Regions from separate parts of the Homo sapiens genome. Here region 2 is linked to region 1. The links are contacts of gene promoters, found by promoter capture Hi-C in blood cells and fetal thymus (Javierre and others, 2016). All regions are on one chromosome and are shown on one strand. Each heading gives the region's core, a stretch centred on a gene start or on the middle of the fragment in contact. The rest is flanking DNA. Distances are from core to core; before and after follow the strand shown.

Region 1 (5,079 bases), core at 1,296-3,795:
GGAGGCTGAGGTGGGAGGAATGCTTGAGCTCGGGAGGTTGAGGCTGCAGTGAGCTGTGATCATGCCACTGCACTCCAGCCTGGGTGACAGAGCAAGAGTGTCTTTAAAAAAAAAAAAAAAAGCACACACACACACATTTTTCACCTTTACAGGTTTTTCTCAAGTACTGTCTATTCAGTAAACATGAATACATGCTATTTCCATATCCTCAGTTATGTGCAGGAAAATGAGGAAGATCTAAGATGATTTACCAAAGGTTTGGGTCTCTAGTGTACATGAATTCCAAACTTTAGAAAGAAGAATACTGAAATTGCCTATTTATCAAGTCTGTTCATGCACGTGTCAAAAAAAGCTGTAAGATTGGGAATCCCAACAAAACAACTTCTTGTATAATGAGTAACTACAGAAGCGCACAGAATTTACTAGTCACACAATAAAGAGACTGAAAGTACCAATATCACTATTAATATTAGAAGCAAGAAACCTTTGAAGGACACGCATTAGCCCTCAGTTCTAATGGAACTGCATTAAATTAGAACCTAAAGCTGAATTTATCTTTACTATATGGGTTTTGAATTAATCATAACCATAAAACAAAGAGTATTATGACAGTTACTCTCACATAAATGCATGTTAAATATAAAGTGAATAAGTAACAACTACACGGTGAACTTATTCTAACAATGGAGAAAGTTTCCAGCTCCAATATCCAGTCCATCCTATTTTCCACAAAAAGTTGTCAGAAAAAATTTTTTTTCCCATTAAGAAATCTGATTCAGTCCAGGCGCCACGGCTCACGCCTGTAATCCCAGCACTTTGGGAAGCCAAGGCGGGCAGATCACGAGGTCAGGAGGTCAAGACCAGCTTGGCCAACGTGGTAAAACCCCGTCTCTACTAAAAATACAAAAATTAGCTGGGCGTGGTGGCGCGTGCCCGTAATCCCAGCTACTCGGGAGGCTGAGGCAGGATAACTGCTTGAACCATGTGTTTTTTTTTTTTTTGTCCTGAGACTCCTCAGGACATCAGGCAGTAACTATCAATTGTAGGCCTCTAAAAATGCTTGTTAAACCAAAAGGCAATGCTCTGATTACTGGAGGAATCTAGATTGCCAAGATCAGCAAAACTACATTAGAAAGTTAATAGCTTCCATCCTTAAAATATCCCAAGAGAAGAAAGGGAGTGATTCTGTTAGCATGTACCCAATACTACACAATAAAAGCCTAAGCAAAATTGGCAGATGTTTTTGTAATTAAGAGGTCCAACCTTGACGAAGTATCATCAGTAGGATTTTAATTCTACTGGGTAAGAGGATTCAGAAAGCAAAAGGTCAGGCAAAAAACGAAAAACCCATCCAAACAGAAACTGCTCAAGGATCTGGTAGGGCTCGTACCGATGTTCTCTACTTCAACCTGTGAGCATCAATTTTGTGATGGGGGCTGCCGGGGACGGGGGTCGGGGCGGGGGGGTGGACAATTTTAAAGTGAGAATGAATGGCTTGCGTAAAGGCGATAGTCTTTAACACGGGTTCGTCAGTGTACATCCTCGCCGGTTTTGAAATAAAGTTGACAAACTCCCCAGAAGCGGTCTATTTTGGAGACTGACACATCTCTCGCATTGACTGGAGGCGCCTGCCGACCGAAGGTAGTGGAAGCGCCGAGAGGCAGGCGGCGCCAAGCCTATAAGAAAGCCTTTTCTCCCTCCACCAAGGCCACTGCGGCCGCGGCGCCGGAGCTCTCCGCTGCAGGGGCAGGTGTCGGCGCCAGACCCCCTACTCTCGGAGCTGGCGGAGTTGCCGCCACTGCTTCCCCCGCGGGCCTAGGAGCCGGAAAGTTGCGTGAAGACAACTCCAGGGCCGTGAAGTCGCTTCCCCCCGCAGCCCGGGGACTGCGGCACCTCCAGCCTCCCCTCAGCACCCCCGGAAAAGGACTCGCCTCAACCCGGCCCCAGCGTCTGGGGGCTTGGAGTGCCGGAGCCAACTCCGCCGGGCCGGGAGGACGCTAGGGTCACCAACGGCGGACGAGCAAGGAGGTCGGAGAGGTGCGATGCCCCAGCGTCAGCCGGCAATCCAGGCTGCGAGTTCCCGGCGCCCACCAGCCAGGCCCGCTAGGACCCCAGCGTCCGGACGCCGCAGAGCCCTCACCGCGGCCCGCAGCCCTCCGATTCGCCCCGACCCCTCCCTGGGACGCAACCCGGGCCCCCCAACTCGACCAGTAGCCAGGCCGCGGCCCTGCGCCCCTTCCCGCCTCACCTGCGCTCCGCGGCGACTCCGTGCCTTCTCGCTCGCTTCGCGCGCGCCCCGTCGGGGCACGCACCGAACCCCCGGCCGGGACTCTTCCCCGCTGCGGTGACTCAGGACGCGACGGCCACCGCCGCCTTCTCCTCCTCGGAACAAGCCCCGGCAGCGAGCAGTGGGTCGCGGTCAGAGCCCCTGCCGGGACCAAAGTGAACCTCGCCGCCTCCGCAGCCTCTACCACCAAGTCCCTTCAGTCGTCCGCGCCGCCCCCAAGAAAATGTCACCAGAGGCCGTTCCGCTGGGCGCCTCACTTCCGCCCGGAAACACAGAGCCCGCGTCGGCCGGCTAGAGAGGCAGCTGCGCCGGAGACCTCTGGAGACTGGCGCCCGAGGCCCGAGAAAAGCCAGACAGCGCCATCTGGCGCGATGGAACCCGCGCTCCTCCCGCTGCAGACCGCGGGGCGTGAAGGCGCCGGCTCCCCGGGCTTCTTTCCCGCGCTCCCTCCTTCTGTTGAGACCGTCACCTTCCCGAAATGTCTTTCCCGGGGGGTGGGAAAGCCACTCAATGCAAGCCAAGGACAATGCCTTCAGCAAAGGACAGCGCTCCCTTTTCTGTGCGCTGCTCAGTACTCACCCCCTCCTGAAGCCCTTCCGAAAGCAGCTTGCGGTGTCTGAATCCCAGAGTCGCTCCAGCGGAGAGCCCGTGCCCTTCTCTCCCCGCTTTTTCGCGGATGCCGATAGCTGGGCTCGGGGAGACTCGGCTGAGCTCTTCTCGGGCAGCGGCACCAATATCTGCTCAAGTTTCTGTCCGGGCACCTTGCAGGCCTTGCAGATCGACCGCCACCTGCTGGTGGGACGTGGCCCGCTGGGGAGACCCCGCTCTGCCCCGAATTCCGCCTCTGCAGTCGCCCTCCGATTTGCAGTCAGCCCTGGGGAGGGTGGGGGAAACGAGGTGGACCCGAACCCCGAAGAAGGGGAGGAGGGCGCAGGCCCACTGGCGGGTGGAGCGTTTCCCAAGGAGGAGCAGGAGATGCTGAAGACATATCTCAAGACTCAAGATCTGGCCAAGGACCCGCGCTCCCCCAAAGCAAAGCAGTGTTTTGAGAAGAAAAATAATAATAATAAAGCTTTGAGGAGGAAAATGTAAACGGTCTTTACCTTTACAGAGCTGTGCTGGAACCTCGGATGAGACCCGTCAAGAGGAGATTCTGAAAATCTCACACCACTGGGTCCGCACTCCCCTAAATATCAGTCTCCCCCTTCAGACCAGGCCCCTTAGTTCCCCCACTTCACTCATTTTTTCTGACTGCCTACAGGAGTGCGAGTTTTTCATCCCCAACTACAAGAATAAATTAAGAAAAGAAAATAATTTTATTATACCAGGCACCTTGCATTTAAATGGGTTAAATCCACTGAATCCTCATTACAACTCATAACAACCCTATGAGTTGGATGGCGTTACTAGTCCCAAATTGCAAAGGTGGAAACTGAGGGACAGAGTGACCTGCCCAAGATGACACATCCAAGTAAGTGGCAGTGTTGGATTCCAACACAGGCAGAGCTTACTTTCTTAACCACAGCCACCAACTGCCTCACTGAGAATCACAGAGAACGTAGTGTGTGCTAGCTAAGTAGTTTATCCGTGTATGTTATTTCACTCGTTCATTCATTTATTTACTTTCTGCTACCTGAGTCCTCAAGGGATTTGAGAGGTTATGGGGTAGTGACAAGAGCCCAGCCTATTTCAGGAAAAAAAGAAAAGAAAAGGAAAAATCACACTAAGATCACAACTTTCAGTCTGGAAATGAATGAATGTGGACTAATACATTGAGTTTTTAAAAGATTCCTTGACAGTCTGATCTAATCAATGCTGCAGAAATACTGAAGTAGGACCCTGACTACTGAGATACCATCTTGGGTCCTTCTCCTGTTTTTTGTTTTTTGTTTTTTGCTTTGTGGTTGTTGTTTCTTTGTTTTTTGTTTGGTTGGTTGGTTTTGGTTTTTTGGTTTTTTTCTTGAGACAGAGTCTTGCTCTGTCGCCCAGGCTGGAGTTCAGTGGCGCGATCTTGACTCACTGCAATCTCTGCCCCCCGAGTTCAAGCGATTCTCCTGCCTCAGCCTCCCGAGTAGCTGGGATTACAGGTGCACGCCACCACACCCAGCTAATTTTTTGGTTTTTTAGTAGAGACGGGGTTTCACCATGTTGGCCAGGCTAGTCTCAAACTCCTGACCTCAGGTTATCCACCCACCTCAGCCTCCCAAAGTGCTGGGATTACAGGTGTAAGCCAGCGCACCCAGCCCCTTCTCCTGTTTAATACCAATAAGTCAATTTCCTACGTCGAATGGCCTTTGTATATTTTTGGAGGCTAGGGCATTTGATATCCTAATTACTAATATTTTTATTACTACTATATTTCCATTATTAAATGGTACAGTTACTTGCTTCTTCCCCTTCTTCTGTAGGAGCAGAAGGGATCCTACTTCTGCCTCAAAGTCTTCTGTGTATCCAATACTTAGCTCTACAAGCTCCTGAAATGCCATCTCTCCCATAAAACCAGCTCAGCCCAGACACAACCCCCGTCACCACTACCCTTATTACCCCCTCCATCCTGGCCTTCCACTGTGGGTCAGGACTCCCCTGCTCACACACACTCTCCTACAAACATGTCTGCCCTTGGTCTATCTGTAGGGTTACTACTAAACCATATTCGTCATCCTCTCAACTTCTGTCATAGCCCTAGAGGCCAGAGCCAAGCCTGTCAGAATCACTCTTCACCATCATTTTTTGCACCTGATATACCGCCTAGCCTGGGGCTAAGCCTGCAGCAGGTACCTGCCAGCTGTGGT
Region 2 (5,079 bases), core at 1,344-3,843, 3.6 Mb before region 1:
CACAATGACGAAATCGCCTAATAGCACATCGTTCAGGATGGATTCTCGTGGTTAAGCAACACATAACTGTATATATATAAATGCATTTTTTCCAGTCATCTGCAAGCTCATGATTCTTCACCCCCATATATTTCAGTATGTATTTCCTTAGAACAAAGGACAATCTTCTACATAACTACAATATAATTATCATGATCAGGAAACTTAATGTCAATATTACCATGTCATCTATAATTTATATGTTTCTCCAGTTGTCCCAATACTGTCTTTTAGAGTATTTTTTTAACCCAGGTTTTAATTAAGGATCTCATACAATATGTGTCACATATCTAGTCTCCTTTAATGTGATACTATTCCTATTTTAGCCATTTTTTGTTTTTCACCACACTGATGTTTTTAAAGAGTTCAGGTCAGTTGTTCTGTGGAATGTACCTCCATGTGGATTTGTCTCATTGTTTCCTTATAATTAGATTCAGGCCAGATGTTTTCAGCAGAAATTCTACGCAAGTGAGATTGTGTTGTCGCTGTAGCAAGGGGAGCGCATGACGTCAGTCTGTCCCTTTATTGGTGATGGGACACCATTACTTCATAATTTGGTGAAGTAATACCCGCAAGATTTATCCATTGTAAAGGTACCCTTTCCTCTTCATGAGACTTGGAGACTATGTCAATATTCTCTCATATATTTACGTGTTTTAATATATGTAAACCTTTCACTGAATGGTGTTAGAATCCACTCATTAGTGACATTTCCAATTAGAGAAAACACAGTACATCTATAAAGACCTACTGATGGTGATCTGCAGTGGGAAGTTGTGATACTTAACCTTTCTTAAATATGTAGAGGCAAACTGAATAGAAAACTGTGTACAAAAATGAACACTCTATACATGAGCATTTTTTTTTTTTTTTTTTTTGAGACGGAGTCTTGCTCTGTCACCCAGGCTGGAGTGCAGTGGCACGATCTCGGCTCACTGCAAGCTCCGCCTCCCAGGTTCACACCATTCTCCTGCCTCAGCCTCCCCAGCAGCTGGGACTACAGGCGCCCGCCACCACGCCCAGCTAATTTTTTTGTATTTTTAGTAGAGATGAGGTTTCACCGTGTTAGCCAGGATGGTCTCGATCTCCTGACCTCGTGATCCGCCCACCTCGGCCTCCCAAAGTGCTGGGATTACAGGCGTGAGCCACGGCGCCCGGCCTATACATGAGCATTTGTGAAGCTTGTCTAAGATTTGTACATTTGATTGCGTGGATATTTTGCCTTAAAAAGAACTGTAAATGAATAATGTGTGCTGATGTGTTCATGGGTGTAGAGTACTAAGGTCTGCATTAAAAAGATAAGATGGTTTGATGGAAGAACAGGTGGATAGCAATATAGCAAAATGTTAACAATTGGGTCGATATGTGTCCACTGTACAAGTCTTCCCACTTTTCTGTAAGTTTGTAAGTTTTCATAATACAAATTTGGATTTAAAAACACCCCAACATTGCAAGAGTGTCACCAAAGTGTTTGAAAAGCAGGATTCTAGGGGGGGCATTCGCTGACGACTCAGAGAAACCGTCCATGCCACCCACCACCCCTACGCACTCAAAAGAAGCCCTCGCTAGGCAGCCCGGCCCTCCGAGCCCTGGTATCGAGGGGCTCTCCGCCTCTCCCCTGCCGCGGCCGCCTCCTGCTTGCCCGGCCTCAGTCTGTTCTCAGAACATACTCCATCACCTGGTTCCCAGAACTCAGATTGCGCAGTGGTCTCGTCATCATCGGCCAGGACTCACAGTGCCCGCGGCAGAGGCCTCCCTAGACCTCCCTCCCGTCCAGCCTCACCCGCTGCCTACTCTCCTCACGCCCCTGCTCCAGGTCCCCTGGCCCCATTTCGCTCGCCACGTTTTCATAATCCTCTCAGGCTCCGGGCAAGCGGCGCCGCCCGCAATGGGACCTGATCATATAAGGAAAATACTGCGGGCTCATCCGGGGGCTGCAATGGGGACCCGAAAGCGCCCTAGCCTACTACAATCACCGCACCCCAACTGCCGCCCACCTCTCTGCCCTGCCCCCAGTACAGTACCCAAAACCGGTCCGGGTCCAGCTCGGCGGCCCAAGCCTCTGCCCAGCGGACTGCGCACCCGCCCGCCCCAGCCAATCCCGCCGCCGCCGCCGCGCCCCGCCCACAGGACGTTCGGTCCCGCCCCCAGCTGGCGGCCGCGGCCGCCCGCGCGCCAAGTTCCTCAGCCCTTGGCTCCTGCCCAGTGTTTAGGGTGTTGGCGGAGACAAAGGGGAAGAGTCATCGCCTGTCGGGGCTAGGATATGATGGGTGAGAGGTGTCAAACCAAATTCTCTCGGTTTGGAAACGGAGAAAATCTAAAAATGAGGATGTGAGGAAAGAGTCCGCTCTCAAGGCGCGTTGTGGTCTATCCGAGCCCCGTCCCCTGGGCTCCCTCGGGCTGGGGTGAGGCGGGCAGCGCTACGCGTGGGGTAGGACCATCTTACGCTGGGACCCCGCCAAGGAGCCCCAGGAAGTAGGTGAAAGGGCAGGGGCGTGGCTCTCGGGGCGCCACCCACGCTCTTGAAATCTGGGTGATTGCGAGCGGCCGCTCAGCGTCCCCCACACCACAGACCCGCGCCGCCGACGACCCAGCAGCCGCCATGGCTCTGCTCCGAGGTGAGCGCAGCCCCCTCCTCCTCTCCTCGCCCCTCGGGGTCCTGCCCTCCCCAGGCCAGGCCTCCGCTTCCGGCCGCCGCGGAGAGTCGGGGTCGTGGGGTGAAGTTCACTCAACCTCCTCGGTTTTGGAGCGGACGTGATAAAAACCCAGCCCGAAAGGCTTGTTTGGGTTAAGGAGAAAACCCTTACTTGTAAGGCGCTAGCGACAGCGATTTCGGTGCAATTTCCTGTTTAGTTGAGACCAAAGTTTGCTTGCATGTGACCTTGGAGGTCATTCCTTTCTTCGCCTAACAGTGACCCCACTAGTTCGAGTCCAAGTATTAGAAAAAATGGGGCGGCGCCATAGGCCGCGGGCGCCTGCTGCGGGGCAGCTGCGCACAGGAGCCCGCCGCTCGGCCTCGGTGGTCAGGGCTCCCCGGGTGAATCGATGGAGAGGCCTGCAGAAATGGTAGCTGGTGTTCTGCTGGAAGACCTGCCCTGCTCCCATTTCCCTTCTGTTGCTTTAGATTAGAGCGGTCACTCTATACCTAAGTTCTAGGGTTATGAACTTGTTTAAAACAACTGTGTAATAAACTCCCTTTTCAAAACAAGTGGGCACAGTCAATGGAATCTTACTTTAAGGATGTACGAGTCGAAGAACATTGAGGTGGAATACATATCGAGGCCCTGAGACAGGAAAAAGCTTGGCAGGATCTAAGAACCAAGCATTTTGGTGCTCCAGGGCCCTGTGGGCTCTGTAAGAAGGTGGGGTTTTGTTCCAAATTCAGTGGAAGGCAATACAGGGATTTAAAGCGGGGTAATGACAGGATCTGATTTCCACTCTGTCCGAATTTGGGGCGGTCTGTGTAATGGCGAAGAGACCATTTAAGGATCTATTGTAGAGGTCCAGGGAGCAGCAAATGATGGCTTTGACTCGTGTGGGGCAGTGTAATTGGGGAGAAAAGGGGAGGGATGAGTTGAGATAGATTTGGAGGTGGATTTGATAGAAAGTGGATTGGATGTGGTGGAGTAAATATAAGAAGGAAATGTCGAGAATGATGAAAAGTGTCTGGTTTGATGAACCGTGTTCATGATGATGCCACTTTACAGAGTGAGGAAAATTGGGAAAGGAATAGATGTGGAAAGAAGGATTGAGAATTCAGTTTTAGGCAGAAAACTTTTTGGTGCCTGTGAAGCAGCCAAGTGGAGATGCCAGCTAAGCATTGGTTAGGGGGATCTGAAAGTGAGAAGAACCAAAGTGGCATGGGAACAAATCAAGGGAAAAATCCGTATTCTGGGACCAAATGCAGTGTTTACAGTTTCCTGCAACGTGGATTTCATTTGCCAGTGCCCTTCCTGACTGAATTTACTACATTTACTTCATAAAGCAGCGTGGTGAATTTTTTTTAGACGAGGCATTTACACTTCATTTAAAAGGTGCATTGTCATGAGCTATCTTCTAAAAAAGGAAATAATATTTTTACTGATATCATTTTAATATTTTATCAGTGGTTCTTACCCTTTCTTATAATACAGACCTGTTTGAAAATTTCACAAATACTATAAACCCAAAAAGGAAAAAAATGCACATTGACACCTGTATTAAGGAAGTATAAAGTTTATAAATTTCTGGTACAATTTACTGTAGTGTTAGAGCTAGTGATCGTATTTTTTTCCATTTCCTTATTGTAGCAATTAGGAGGACACTCATGTCGAGAGAGGTAAAGTGGTTGTGTATAATAACACAGGTAGTTAGTGGCTGTGACTAGAACCCAAGCTTTGAGCTTGAAATAGTGATGTTACAGGCCAGCTAGAATCATTAAAGATAAACTTCTCTCAAGCAGCATACCAAGTGTTTGCAGGATGGGTGGGAAGAAAGAAGAGCATGTGACTGATTATAGGGAAAAGGACACATTTGAGTTAAATTTTGTTAAGGATTAACATTAATTTGTCAGATTTCAGTCAACAAGAAGAACCGGCTCCTAGGTTTTTATTAGCACCCATCCCAGTACTTGGCAGGAGGTTTTCGCTCGACAGATCATAGCTCTCCTACTGCTCCTAGCTTTGTTGGGAATGTTTGTGTATTTTTTCAAGGCAAGTAGACAGGGCTGCTAAATTACCTTAATCTTGAAACAACTGGATGCCACCGCAGCTTTCCTTAATTTGCCCTCGTTGCTGCCTGAAGTTGCTCTAAGTGAATATTTACCTAACAATGTGATAGAAAGGTAGTGCTCCTGTTTCTTTCCTAGTGGTGCTTTTCCTGTATTGTCAACTCAGCACATCTTTCCAGGGCCTTTCTTGGAGCTACTTGGACTCACTACACTCTGGGTTAATAGGTCTCTTCACTGTCTTTCAGTTTTGGGAAATTTTTAGCCTCTGAATTTTCAGGGTGTTCAAATGAGATTTCAGTTTGGTGTTAAAGATTGTTAAGTTTTAGACCTTT

Evidence for each region. The method cuts DNA at HindIII sites, captures the fragments that hold promoters and counts their contacts. A CHiCAGO score of 5 or more calls a contact.
Region 2: the fragment with the promoter of ACAA2 here is called in contact with the fragment with the promoter of ARK2N in region 1 in 1 of 17 cell types (naive CD8 T cells); the score reaches 5.1 in naive CD8 T cells.

The regions. Positions count from the first base shown.
Region 1 is chr18:46,171,500-46,176,578 of GRCh38, reverse strand. It overlaps ARK2N (arkadia (RNF111) N-terminal like PKA signaling regulator 2N), which reads right to left and starts at 2,545. Exons shown (of 5, transcript NM_145055.5): 1 at 2,249-2,545. RefSeq lists enhancers at 1,532-1,661, 2,262-2,311, 2,342-2,601, 2,922-2,971. The HindIII fragment of the contact is 7,725 bases long and covers 1-3,361 here.
Region 2 is chr18:49,811,047-49,816,125 of GRCh38, reverse strand. ACAA2 (acetyl-CoA acyltransferase 2) reads left to right here and starts at 2,593. Exons shown (of 10, transcript NM_006111.3): 1 at 2,593-2,657. The coding sequence starts at 2,642. SNHG22 (small nucleolar RNA host gene 22) reads right to left here and starts at 2,103. Exons shown (of 4, transcript NR_117096.1): 1 at 2,064-2,103. It also overlaps SCARNA17. RefSeq lists silencers at 2,081-2,250, 2,493-2,787, 2,681-2,800. The HindIII fragment of the contact is 2,119 bases long and covers 1,223-3,341 here.